Linked DNA regions of Homo sapiens: region 2 is linked to region 1. Evidence: promoter capture Hi-C in human tissues and cell types (Jung and others, 2019). All regions are on one chromosome and are shown on one strand. Each heading gives the region's core, a stretch centred on a gene start or on the middle of the fragment in contact. The rest is flanking DNA. Distances are from core to core; before and after follow the strand shown. Region 1 holds the start of PLCE1 (phospholipase C epsilon 1). Region 2 overlaps PLCE1 (phospholipase C epsilon 1).

The links. The method cuts DNA at HindIII sites, captures the fragments that hold promoters and counts their contacts. A contact is called where the count stands out against the background at its distance.
Region 2: a contact is called between a fragment that was not itself captured here and the fragment with the promoter of PLCE1 in region 1, in 1 of the 25 tissues and cell types used here (mesenchymal stem cells).

The regions. Positions count from the first base shown.
Region 1 is chr10:93,990,570-93,996,630 of GRCh38, forward strand. It overlaps PLCE1 (phospholipase C epsilon 1), which reads left to right and starts at 3,362. Exons shown (of 33, transcript NM_016341.4): 1 at 3,362-3,689. It overlaps LOC105378438 (a long non-coding RNA gene), which reads left to right. Exons shown (of 4, transcript XR_946215.2): 4 at 2,651-3,150. RefSeq lists a silencer at 3,176-3,465. The HindIII fragment of the contact is 15,571 bases long and covers 1-5,521 here.
Region 2 is chr10:94,305,155-94,311,215 of GRCh38, forward strand. It overlaps PLCE1 (phospholipase C epsilon 1), which reads left to right. Exons shown (of 33, transcript NM_016341.4): 26 at 1,273-1,534; 27 at 3,427-3,545. Among named protein-coding and RNA genes, the nearest start is that of PLCE1-AS1, 21 kb to the left of the region's middle. The HindIII fragment of the contact is 5,549 bases long and covers 1,132-6,061 here.

The DNA.
Region 1 (6,061 bases), core at 2,112-4,611:
ACCTCTCACTGGGTCCCTCCAACAACGGGGGAATTATGGGAACTACAATTTGAGATTTGGGTGGGGACACAGCCAAACCATATCAGGTAGGTACAATTTATCTAGAGGAAAATGAGGCACAGTGAGATAAGTAACCTGTCCGAGGGCTCACAACTTGGGGGTGGATCTGAGCATCCAACTCAAGTGGTCCCACACCAAATTCTGTTCCCCTAACACCGGCTGCGCTGAGAGAGGATGTTTAAGATCATCTTTCCCTGCTTTGCTTACTGTTCCCTGGGGACCCTCACTCCTAACCATGTCACACAGGTAGAGATACCTACAGCTTTAACAAGCTGGTTGTTTTTCATCAACCTCAAACTGCCTTAGTACATCTAACCTCACATACAAGACAACTCTAGGAAGTGTGTTTTTGGCTCTCTGCTCACCATCTGAACTTGCTAGTCTATTTGCAGACAGCTAGTAAGCCCGGTACAGTTTGATGCAGTGACTTTGAAAGGGAGAAAATGGCAACTGCAAAAGCTGAGGGCTGCCTTGTTCCTTCAGTCCTTCCTTGGCCTTTGTGCTACCCAGATGTCTGTTGGCAAATTCCTCTGTTTGACGATCAGCAGCTGTTTGACAAAGATCAATGCATTAGTCAATGGTGCCCACACTGACTACTCAGTTCCCAAACTAATGGTTTGTTTATGAACGGGTTAACTGATGGCTGGCTTGTTGAGTGTGGCAAAGCGCCAATCCTTCTTCTGTAATATGTGCAGTAGAGGGTGTGGGGCCTCTTGTTGGCAACCACCACCATGAAGTCAGAGACCACTGCCCCCACCTCCTTTCTGAAAATTACAGGATAGGGGAGGCAGAAAGAAAGAGGGAAGATGGTTCCGTTTCTTAAAATAATTTTACTACTTAAATTCCCTAGTCTCTATGTTTATCATGTATTTAAATCAATTTCCATTGACTGGAGACCAGTATGTAATGTAATAAGCTCAAAAGACATGTGTGTTTTCTTCTGAAATTTCAAACATAGATGCACTTTACTGAAATAAAGTCTCCACAGGATTGTTTCTTGGGGCTGTTGTTGTTGTCTATGCAGAATGGTCTTGTATAAAGAGATGCATAACTTAGTTTACTGAAGCTGAATTTTCCATGGAAATTATCCAGTGCTTTCCCAATTCTCAGGCGCTTTATCTGACAGTCTTTCTTCCTCTAGATAATGGCTGGCAGCAGCCCACAGAGTGGAGGTTATATGGTGCACTTCTGAAAAAGTCTTGAATGGAGCCATTGTTCCCCTGAGATGGTCTGTGTGTTTCACTGAACAGAGAGCAGGGTGTAAAAAAGGCACCTTGTGTGCAACTGTTGGCGAGGTTGGGGAGTGAATTAAAATCTCCAGAAAGTCTGGGCAGTGCTGTTCAGAGGAGCAATGAACACTCTGGAAGTACTGTTAGCTCAGACATTCCAATGTGGTGAGGCAGCCTCGGGGACACGACTTCCCTCCAATCTCGTTTAGAGAGGGAGCCATGGGGCGAGCAAAGGACACTGATCTGGACCTGCTCTCTTTGCAAAGATTTGAGGAAGGCGCCCCTTTCTAGGGATGGGGCCACAGTGATTATCACACTTGGATAACTTTCCTGCTCAACGGACCTAGATTTGCCTTGCTTACTAATCATGCAATGACTCATTTGGAGGATTCAATGTTAACTGCTTGTGCATCTACCAGTTTGTAGCTATCTATTCCCATGTGCCAAATTAAAAAAAAAAAGTCTTTGGGGGTGCCAGGTGATGGATGAAGTTTGATATTATTTGATCATTAAATGAATTATAAAACCATAATATAATACTGTATATTAAATAAATAGCCTACCTTGTTTATTGTCAGTGATGCTACCTCTTTCCTCAGCCCTTTATTTACTTGTTCAGGATAACATAGCCTCAGGGATTGAGTAAATTACCACTTCTCACTGTCCTAGTGCTAAAATGCCAAGATCTTAAGGAACAAAGAATTTCTTTAGAGCCCTCTGCAGAGACCTTTCTGAAATCAGCTCTCCAGGGAGGCAATCATGTTAGTTTTCATTAAAGTCCTAGTGGTGAGAAAACAGCAAGACAGTTTAAGGACCAGACTGGCAGATTTTTCTTAACAGCAGGATTCTTTGGGCCTCCTGTGCTTTCTTGCTCCAACCTCTCCTGTGTTCTGGAGCCTCCAAGAAGGAGAGATCACTTTTAAGAGGGACCCGAAAGAAAGGGTCAAACATGAGCAGGAGGAAAGTGTGTGGGAGGAGATGCTCCAGGTAGAAGGCTCAGCTTAAGTTCAGGTACAGAGCTAGAGTGGGAGAGACATTCTGTTGGGTGATCCTTATTAGCCAGGGCATGCTGGGTTACACAGCCATGGAGAGTTAGTTTGGAGGGCAATAGGGAGCCAGTGAAGTTTTCTGCATAGATTAAAGTTGTAAAAAAGGAAGAATAATACAGCGGTGGTTTGAAGGATTGATTTGGTCCAAGGGAGAGGACAGTGGGAGGCGATATGGGCCACAGGAATGGGTCCTGATCGGATGTAGGAGAAGAGGTCAGGCCTAGGGAACGGTCTTCCATTAGAACAGGTAGAGGGAGGAGGCACAGGTTTAGGCGAAAGGGAGGAGGATGATGATTTGATTTTTTTTTCCAGGTCCTTGGCTCTCCTAAGACTCATAAAAGCCGCTCCAGCGGCTAAGGAAGTTCTGTGCAAAGCCTGTAGTTTCTAGTTGTGAAGATCTTCAGGTTTGCTTGAGCAATGAAAGAGTACTGGATTTGGAGTCCGCAGTCCTGGATGGCCACCATTACCAGCAAAAGGAGTATTTCCGGAGCCTGGCACAACGCTGGGCACATTGATGGGGCTCAATGAATATGTATTAAATGAACGAGTGACAGAACAGATTCGAGACTTGGTGCTGCCATCTACTACAGAGACCTTGATCGTGTCCTTTATCTGCCGTGAACCTCAGTTTCCATATCTGTCAACCAGGGGTGGTTCCCTGGGGTAGTGTGAGAGTAAATTCCCGCCGCCTGAGGTGTGCAGAGTTCCCGCCCTTCCCGGAGCCGGGCGCCCCAGGAGCGCTCTCTCTGGCTCCCGCCAGAAAGGATGGCTCCTAGGGGTCAGGGCCAGGGGTCTGGGAAGGGGTCGCGCCGCCAGCAGCCAGCTCCGGGGGAGGCGGCCGGGTCCTCGCTCCGCGCCCGCCTTCCCCGCGCGGCAGGAGCCGGGGGCGGGCCCGGCACAGGCCGCTCCCCCGCCCGGCCGCCCGCGGTGGCGCTAGCGGCCTCTCACCCGGGGCGGGCGAGTTCTGGGAAAGCCCGGCCCAGGGCGGGGGCCCCGCTGCCGCCCGCGCAGCCGCCGCTGTCCGGGCAGCGCGCACATCTCGGCGGGAGCGGACTGTGAACGGCGCGGGTCCACACGGTAACGCTGGGCAACGTGGGCAACGCGGCGGGCGGCGGGCTCGCGCGGCGGGAGGGGCAGCGGCGGCGCGCCCGGGCTCTACCTCCCGGGCTCTGCCTCCCGGGCTCTGCCTCTCGGGCACTTGCCTGGCTCCTGCGCGTTCCTGGGCATCGGCTCTGCAGCTGACACACAGTAGCGGGGACACCCGACGCCGCTAGCGACAGGCGCGCGGACGGCTGGTCCCAGAGGGACGCTGCGCTTGGGGACGCCGGCGAGACTCGCCAGGAGCCAAGAGGTGAGGAAGCGACTCTGTAGCTCGGTTCCTGAGGACTGGAGAAAGGGAAGGATGGGCTGGTTCTCTCCCAAGGCAGTCGACCCGCCTAAGGGAGCAGCCCGACTCCGCGTACCTGGCGGAAAAGTGTCCTCGCGCTCCCGGGGGACCCGAGGCGGGCGGTCCTCCAGGGCATGCAGGCCGCCCTCGCAGGGGCTAAAGGACACCCTGCCAGTGCCTTCACTCCAGACGCCTGCCTCAGGTCGCCCCTTCGTGTTGTGAATACGGTGTGGAGGTGGCCAGTGCAAAGAAAAACGTAAGCTCTTTTTGTGGCGGTACTTAGCAGCGGTATTTCAAGGAAAGTGCTCAAGAGATTGTTCCTGGAGAGATTTGTGTACATCAAGTCCTAGAAAATACAATATTGGACCAGGTCCCGCTCTAACTGATAACTAGAATAGCTAGCTTTGCCTTCAAGTCCTTTAATGCTACAGTAATAAATACACTAGAGCAAGAAGTCTTCTGTCGTGGCGAATGTTAGGTGCACAGCGTAAATTTGTGGAAGCTTTCGCCCCTCGCTCTGTATTTAAGCCATCAGACACTGAGTTCAGCCGACTTAACCAATTATTCAGTGTAAGACTCATTTAGTGATTAATCAGTGTCATTTTAAATAGTGAGTTCCCTGAATACCTGTTAAGTAGGATTCACGTCTTCGAAAAGTTTTATTTGCACGAAGGTCATAATTTCAGTTGCATTATGCAAAATTTGCCCGTAGGTCTTTTAGATCTCTGCAGGATTGGTATGTTTTCATGTTTCTTATACCCCCCGTAGAGGTAGGGCAGGGCCGCTGCCACAGAATGGGCACTACTGAGGCCAAGAATGCTTGACCCCACTAGGGAGAATTTTTGAGAGCCTGACTTGGGAGGTGGAAGCAGGTGACCCCATAGGTGCTTGTACAGGTGCCCAGTTGTCATTGAGGAGAGAGGTGGACTATCTCTAGGTTATTGTATGCATCGATGTCTTCATAAATACTTTTCTGAAGAATGTCTGATGGTGTTGTCATCTAGACCATCTGATGGCACATCTTCCCCCACATCCACCACTCTAAAGTCTAACCATCCTTCAAACTGTGTTTTGCTGGTGGTGTGAGGCTTTTCCTGAAACAGCCAACCTCCCCCTGCTCTGATTTCTGCAGCATTTTTTCTCCAGGGCCCTTTCTGCTCTCTACCTTCTGGGAGTTATTTATGTAGATGTCTCATTTTCCCTACTGAAGGCATTTGCTGTGGCTTTCATGGCAAAATGCTTGCACCTAGAAGACTCTAGAGATAATTGTGGGCCAGTATTAAATCTTAAGACTTTGGTTTTACAACATAAATATCTACTTTGGAGAAGGAGATAATATAATTGAAAGGAGCTAGAGGAATGTATAATGTTTACCATTAACACTATCCTTTATTTACAGCCCCATGGGGGAAATTCCCTTTATACCCAGGAGCCATGTCTTACCAGGTAAGAAGCCAGATTGAACTGGAGGGACATTCTTCCAGTCCTCTTAGTAACATAAACTCCTGGGATGTGGTCCAAGTTTGACCTGTCATTAAAAATTCCATACTCCAGTGGGTTAGAAGCTAGATTCCAATGAAGGCGGTTGGTTTTGTTTTTCTATTTACAACCATTCTTAGTCACATTCTTCTCTGGGCTTTTGTTGTATACTTTAAAAAAACTGTTTGATGTGCAATTTGTTACCTGTAACTTTCTAAATGAATAAAAGAAGATTGAAAAAATACTGTGCATGGTGGAAGAGTTTTCTAAAGTAGACAGCAGGGGACGTTTCCCATGCCTGGGCAAGAGGAGGGATTTGCACAGAGTGAGGCTTGCTGCACGTGTGTGTGTGTGTGTGTGCGCGCGCGTGTGTGTTCCACACACCTGGCTGACAGGCGCCTATATAGGACAGTTGCTTTAGTCTTAATGCCTTCTCTCTCTGCCGGAACTACTTCTGCGGTGGAAGAACAATAAAACAGAGCTTCTGGGTTCAGAAGGAGAAGCAGAGGAAAAGCCAAAAACAGTAGAAGCAGCTAAGAGTGTGAATTTGTTTGCTGAAGTTGCTTTCCTCCCAACGTTCAGTTGAGATCTGTGGCATTGAGCAAGTAGGGGTTTGGTTGAGGCGAGGGAAGACAGGTGATTAGGAAACATGGTGCTTCTGGAAGAGGGGTGGAAGGTTCTGATAGGGTTTTAGGGAAGCATGTGATTTAGTTATGTAAGGCCCAAAGAGGAGAGTTGGAGATGGAGGAGTAGGGAATGGAGAAAGAGAGGAAGACGATATCAAAGATGCATTTTGTTATAGGCCAACCATGTGGCCTACAAAGAAGGGCAGAACTCTCTCTAGCATCATGTGTTCC
Region 2 (6,061 bases), core at 2,656-5,155, 320 kb after region 1:
GCGGTGGCTCACGCCTGTAATCCTAGCAATTTGGGAGGCCCAGGTGGGTAGATCGCTTTGCGCTCAAGAGTTCGAGACCAGCCTGGGCAACATGGCAAAACCCTGTTTCTACAAAAAAATAACAAAAAAAATTAGCTGGGCATGGTGGTTCACACCTGTACTCCCAGCTACTTGGGAGTCTGAGGCTGGAGAATTACTTGAGTCCAGAAAGCGGAGGTTGCAGTGAGCCAAGATTGCACCACTGCACTCCAGCCTGTGTGACAGAGTGAGACTCCGTTTCAACAAAACAAAACAACAACAGAGACCTGGTCATCTCTTTCCACCTTTAGATCTTGTCTCTCTCTCTCCACAGGAAGAATGCCAGGCAGCCCTCCAAGTACGACACCCCCAAACCCCTGGGATAACCCCATTCACAGACTTTCCTACCACCCAAACTGCTTTTTCTCTTTCCCTAAGACAGCAGGGCAGTAGCCCCTTTCCTATTTGTTATTTTTTAGATAGAGGCGAGGGTAGTTTTATCTGTTTACAGAAAGCTGTGAATTAGTTCCTAACACGTCTGTGACTTGCTCCAAAATGAAACTATTCAAGAAAAAGATTTTGAAGTTATAAAATCCTGTGGCATTTTGAACAGAATATTAGTAACAAATTTATGATTATATTGCATAAAGTCTTCTCTTGTGAGAAATTTAACTTCATCTTGTTTGGTTTTTGAAGATATTTGAACATTTTGATAGTTGAAAGCTTACAGTTAAGTGAATGATGTTGACAAAATAGGCTTTTCATATGATTCCAGTCGTGTGATTACCCAGTTACAATCACTTACTTTTTTTTTTTTTGAGATGGAGTCTTGCTCTGTCACCAGGCTGGAGTACAGTGGCGTGATCTCAGCTCACTGCAACCTCTGCTTCCTGGGTTCAAGCAATTCCCCTGCCTCAGCCTCCCTAATAGCTGGGACTACAGGCGCACACCACCATGCCCAGCTAATTTTTTGTATTTTAGTAGAGACAGGGTTTCACCATGTTGGCCAGGATGGTCTCAATCTCCTGACCTCGTGATCTGCTCACCTCAGCCTCCCAAAGTGCTGGGATTACAGGCATAAGCCACCGCGCCCAGCCCTACAATCACTTACTTTTTAAACAGTTTTATTCATCATTCACTTTGTCCATTCCAGTGTTCTTGGGATTCCTTTGCAGAGGGAAGCAGTGAGGTGCAGAGGTTGTCTTTCTTTTTTATCCTCGGTGACTTTGATCCCTTTTGTCTCCCTCACCCTAGATTGTCTCTGGTCAGAATGTGTGCCCCAGTAATAGCATGGGAAGCCCGTGCATTGAAGTCGACGTCCTGGGCATGCCTCTGGACAGCTGCCATTTCCGCACAAAGCCCATCCATCGAAACACCCTGAACCCCATGTGGAACGAGCAGTTTCTGTTCCACGTTCACTTCGAAGATCTTGTATTTCTTCGTTTTGCAGTTGTGGAAAACAATAGTTCAGCGGTAACTGCTCAGAGAATCATTCCACTGAAAGCTTTAAAACGAGGTAGAATAAAATTGTCCAAATGTTAATAATTGTTGTAGCTAGGTGATGGATGCCAGAATTTCCTTATACTCTTCTCTCTTTTCTGTTTGACATTTTCCTATAAAGAAGTTGAATTAAGAAGCAAAAGGAAATACAAATTGGAGCACTTTTGAAGCACATCTCAAAAGAAGTTTTTCTTTTACATTTTTTAAGAATCTGAGGTATTAACAATATCCCTTGTAAAGTACAGCCTCACCCATGCTTGCTGATGTCAGGAGCAGTGGTTGTTGCTACCCACGGCACTGCTGGCAGTTTGAAAGCAGGGATTGAAATAAGGAGAGGAAACATGTCAGAGGGGTCGGGTGTGGTGGTGGCATAAGTGACCGTGCAGTTGGAGTCGGTGCCTGGCAGAAGTCCAGTTTTGGAAGCTGGGGCTGGGTTTCAGGTGCAGGAAGAGGGGAATGGAGAATTCTGGGCAAAGGCTAGAGCTATTTGCTTGTAGATTGGCTTTGTTGTGGCACTCTGATGAATTTCAGCCTGTGCATTGTTTTTAAACTTTGATGTGCACAGGAATCTGCTAGGACTGGTAATACCATGCAGATCGTGATTCAGTGGCCTCAGGTGAAGACTGACAGTTTCCCTTTCTAACATATTTCCAGGTGTGCTGGCTCTGATGGTCTCCTTTGAGCACCAATATTCTAAGTACACACTTCCTCTCCCAGCTACACTCAAGCTGCCATCCTTGGAGCTCACAAACACATTACAGTTTCCTACTTTTGTGATCTTTTCCTGTTTCTCTTCTGTGTGCAAGTAGCCCGTGGTCATTTAATTAGTCTGCTCAGGCTGCCATCATGGAATACCACAGACTAGGTGGCTGAACCACAGAAATGTATTTCCTCGCAGTTCTGAAGGCTGGAAGTCTGAGATCAGGGTGTTGGCAGGTTTGGTTTCTTCTAGGGCCTCTCTCCTTGGCTTGCAGATGGTCCCCACACAGTCAGCCCTCTATGTTGTCTGTGTCCTAATCCCCTCTTCTCATAAGGACACCAGTCCCACTGGATTAAGGCCCACCCTAAGGACCCCATTTTAACTTAGTTACCTCTTTAAAGACCCTCTCTTCAAATATAGTCACATTCTGAGGTACTGAGGGTTAGGACTTCTACACAAGAATGGGGAGTATAGGGTCGGGGGAGACCCATAACTGTTATTATAGAAATGTGAGAAAGTACATAGAAACAAAAACAATTTTTTTTTAATTATCCATTTTTCCATCTCTCCAACACAGTCACTCTTGGTGTATAAGTCTTGCAGGCTTTGTTTCTCTCCCCATGTACGTAACACATGAGCATACAGATATATTTTTAACAAACAGGCTTTCTACTAATCTTTGTGTTTTGTAACTTACTGGTTTTCACTTACTAATGTATACAGTGAGCAACCTTTCATGTTAATAACTATACATGTACATTACCATTTTTACCAGCTGTGTATTATTCCATTCTATACTTACACTTACAGTCATACCATAAATTATAACCAATCTTCCATTGTGGGAATGTTCTATTATCACTAAAGCTGCTCTAAGATGGAACATTTGTAAAACAGGGACTGTTAGTCTGTTAGTGCTTCATTCACAGGGACTGTTAGTGATCAGGTTTTCCTACTAGATCAGGTTTTGTCTGAGTTTAAGGTTTTCTGTTTGAGTCTAAGTTGGAAACAGTACTTGGACAAATTAATTGCCATTGGGTAACTCAGGGGGCAGCACTCTCTTGGCGAAAAGACGCCTGTTGGTTGCATGCCTGTTGCCATCCCTGCCCATTTTAAGGTCTTTCTACCTGTCATTTGCCGACTTCCAGGAGCATCTTCTTTTCAGTAGCCATGGTTAACAAGCTTTTCCCAATTCTGTATTACTCCAGGATATCGACATCTTCAGCTGCGAAACCTTCACAATGAAGTCTTGGAGATTTCTAGTTTATTCATTAACAGCAGAAGGATGGAAGAAAATTCCTCTGGCAATACCATGTCAGCCTCTTCGGTAATGAAGTTCTGTTTCACTCAACATATTTATGGGGATTGCTACACTGAAGGTGGGCTTTTTTGTGGCCCAGCAAAGTGGTCGGTGTGAGTTATTAATTAGGTAGCTATGGAAATTAATAACAATAATGGCTGACACTTGGCACTGACTAAGCACTTTACGTATATACTAACTCAGTCCTCTCAATAACGTCAGGCAGTAGCTATTTAGTATCATCTCCATTTTGCAGATGAGAAAGGTAGAGCTAAGTACATCTGAGGTCACACAGCTAGCAAGCAGCAGTCCAGGATTTACACCCAAGTTCCAGTAACAAAGCCCATATATTACAGTGTCTATCAGGGAAGTAAGCCAAATATAACAAAGTGAGGAAGAGGCTTATTATGCGAAGCCTAGTAGGAAGCATTTCCAATACTTCTAGAAACTTTAGGTTAAACCAGGAAAATATTTTGTTTCTTCAGCAGTCCAGGGGCAAATGTCACAGGCAGAGCAAGGCTGGAGTGAGCAATAGGCTCTGCTGGCGATGCATAACTTGCACCTCAGTGCTTGGCAGATGCAGAAGCTGCTCCCTTGAGAATGGAAGAAGGACACTGTAGAAAGTGCCATAGTTGCAGAATCTGCTTTTTTTTTTTTCCAGAGACAGTGTGTCTCTGTCACCCAGTGTCACTCTGTCACCCAGGTTGGAGTGCAGTGGTGCCATCCTGGCTCACTGCAGCCTCGACCTTCCTGGCTCAAGCAATTCTCCCACCTCAGCCTCCTGAGTAGATGGGACTACAGGTGTGTGCCACTATGCCCAGATAATGTTTTTCTATAGAGATGGGGTCTCACTATATTGCCCAGGTTGGTTTTAAACTCCTGGACTCAAGCGATCCTCATGCCTTGGCCTCCCAAGGTGGCCTCCCAAGGTGCTGGGATTACAGGCATGAGCTACCGCACCTGGCCAGAATCTGCTTTTTAACAAGTGCCTCATGGAAACTCAGTGCCCACTAAAGTTTGAGGACACTTGGACCATGGCCCCCTCACTAATGCAGGATGGTTTAATTAGGTAAGAATCTGGGCTGAGTGCAGCGGCTCATGCCTCTAATCCCAACACTTTGGGAGGCCAAGGCAGAAGGATAGCTTGAGTCCAGGAGTTCAAGATCAGCTTGGGCAAGACCCCATCTCTATTAAAAAACGTGTTTTAATTGAGCATAGTGTCGAGCACCTATAGTCCCAGCTACCTGGGAGGCTGAGGCAGAAGGACTGCTTGAGTCCAGGAGTTTGAGGCTACAGTGAGCTATGATCACACCACTGCACTCCAGCATGGACAAAGAATGAGATCCTGTCTCTAAAAAAGGTATTTTTAAAACAACTACTTTAATTAACTGGCTAATTCCATTATGCTTCCTCTTTAAACATACATTTTAAAAGTGTATCCATTGGTTACCCCCTTTACATGTTTAATAATGTGATTACTTCTGTGTCAATCTCAGACTCAACGTAGTCCTAACAATCTTTGGAAAGGCACCTTCTGCGCTCACAATGGCACTGGCCATGATGGCTTCCACTGCCACTTTCTGCTTTCTTTTCTGCCCTTCTCCTGCCCTCACCACTATCAGTTTTGACTCCCGCTGTCCCTGCCCTTGTTTGCTTAGGTGTTCCTCCTTTTTCCCTTCATCACTCCACAGCAACCTTCACTGTACATTTGTATCACCTGGGGAGCTTTAAAAACTCCATGTGCACAGGCCACACCCCGCACCAATTAAACCAGAGTCTCTGCAGGTGGGCCCCAGGCATCAGTTTTTTTAAGGATCATCAGGCGATTGCACCATGTGTCCAAGGTTTAGAAGAGCACTTTGGCCAAAGTGGAGGGAGGTGTGGCTTCCACCTTGTGCAGAGGATTGACAAGCAAGGGCAGGGCCGCGTGGTACAAAGAGCAGGAATCACATGCTTTCAGAAAGGCAGAGCAGGGCCAAATACCCAATTCTGAGCTGGGTGACCTCGATATCTGTTACAGCTGAAGATTCCACAGATGCCACAAATGAACTGTTTTTACTCACGACACTTCTGACACCAAAAACATGGTGTCTTTTCCAACTCTCTGGCAACAGCTGGGTGTCCTACATTTCAGTTCAATTCTAACACTATCCATCTAGAGTTGGTGTCAGATCCCACACATTGAGGGCTCAGTCCCACAAGACTACTCCTACTTCAGATGCCAGTCAGAAGTCCCAGGTTGTCACCAGGACTTCTGACCAAACAGCTATAAATTCAGGGGATCCATATAAATCCTCAGATTCAAGAGTTTGCTAGAATGACACAGAACTCACAAGAGTGCTTTGCTTATTATCACCAGTTGATCAGAACAGATGTACTTCAGGAGCAGCCTCATGGAAGGATGCATGGAACAAGGTATGGGAGGAGGAGTGCAGAGCTTCCATGTCCTCTCCAGGCCACCCTCCCAGAACCTCGATGTGTTCACCAACCTGGAAGCTCTCGGAACCCCATCATTTAGGGTTTTTATGGAGGTTTCATGACCT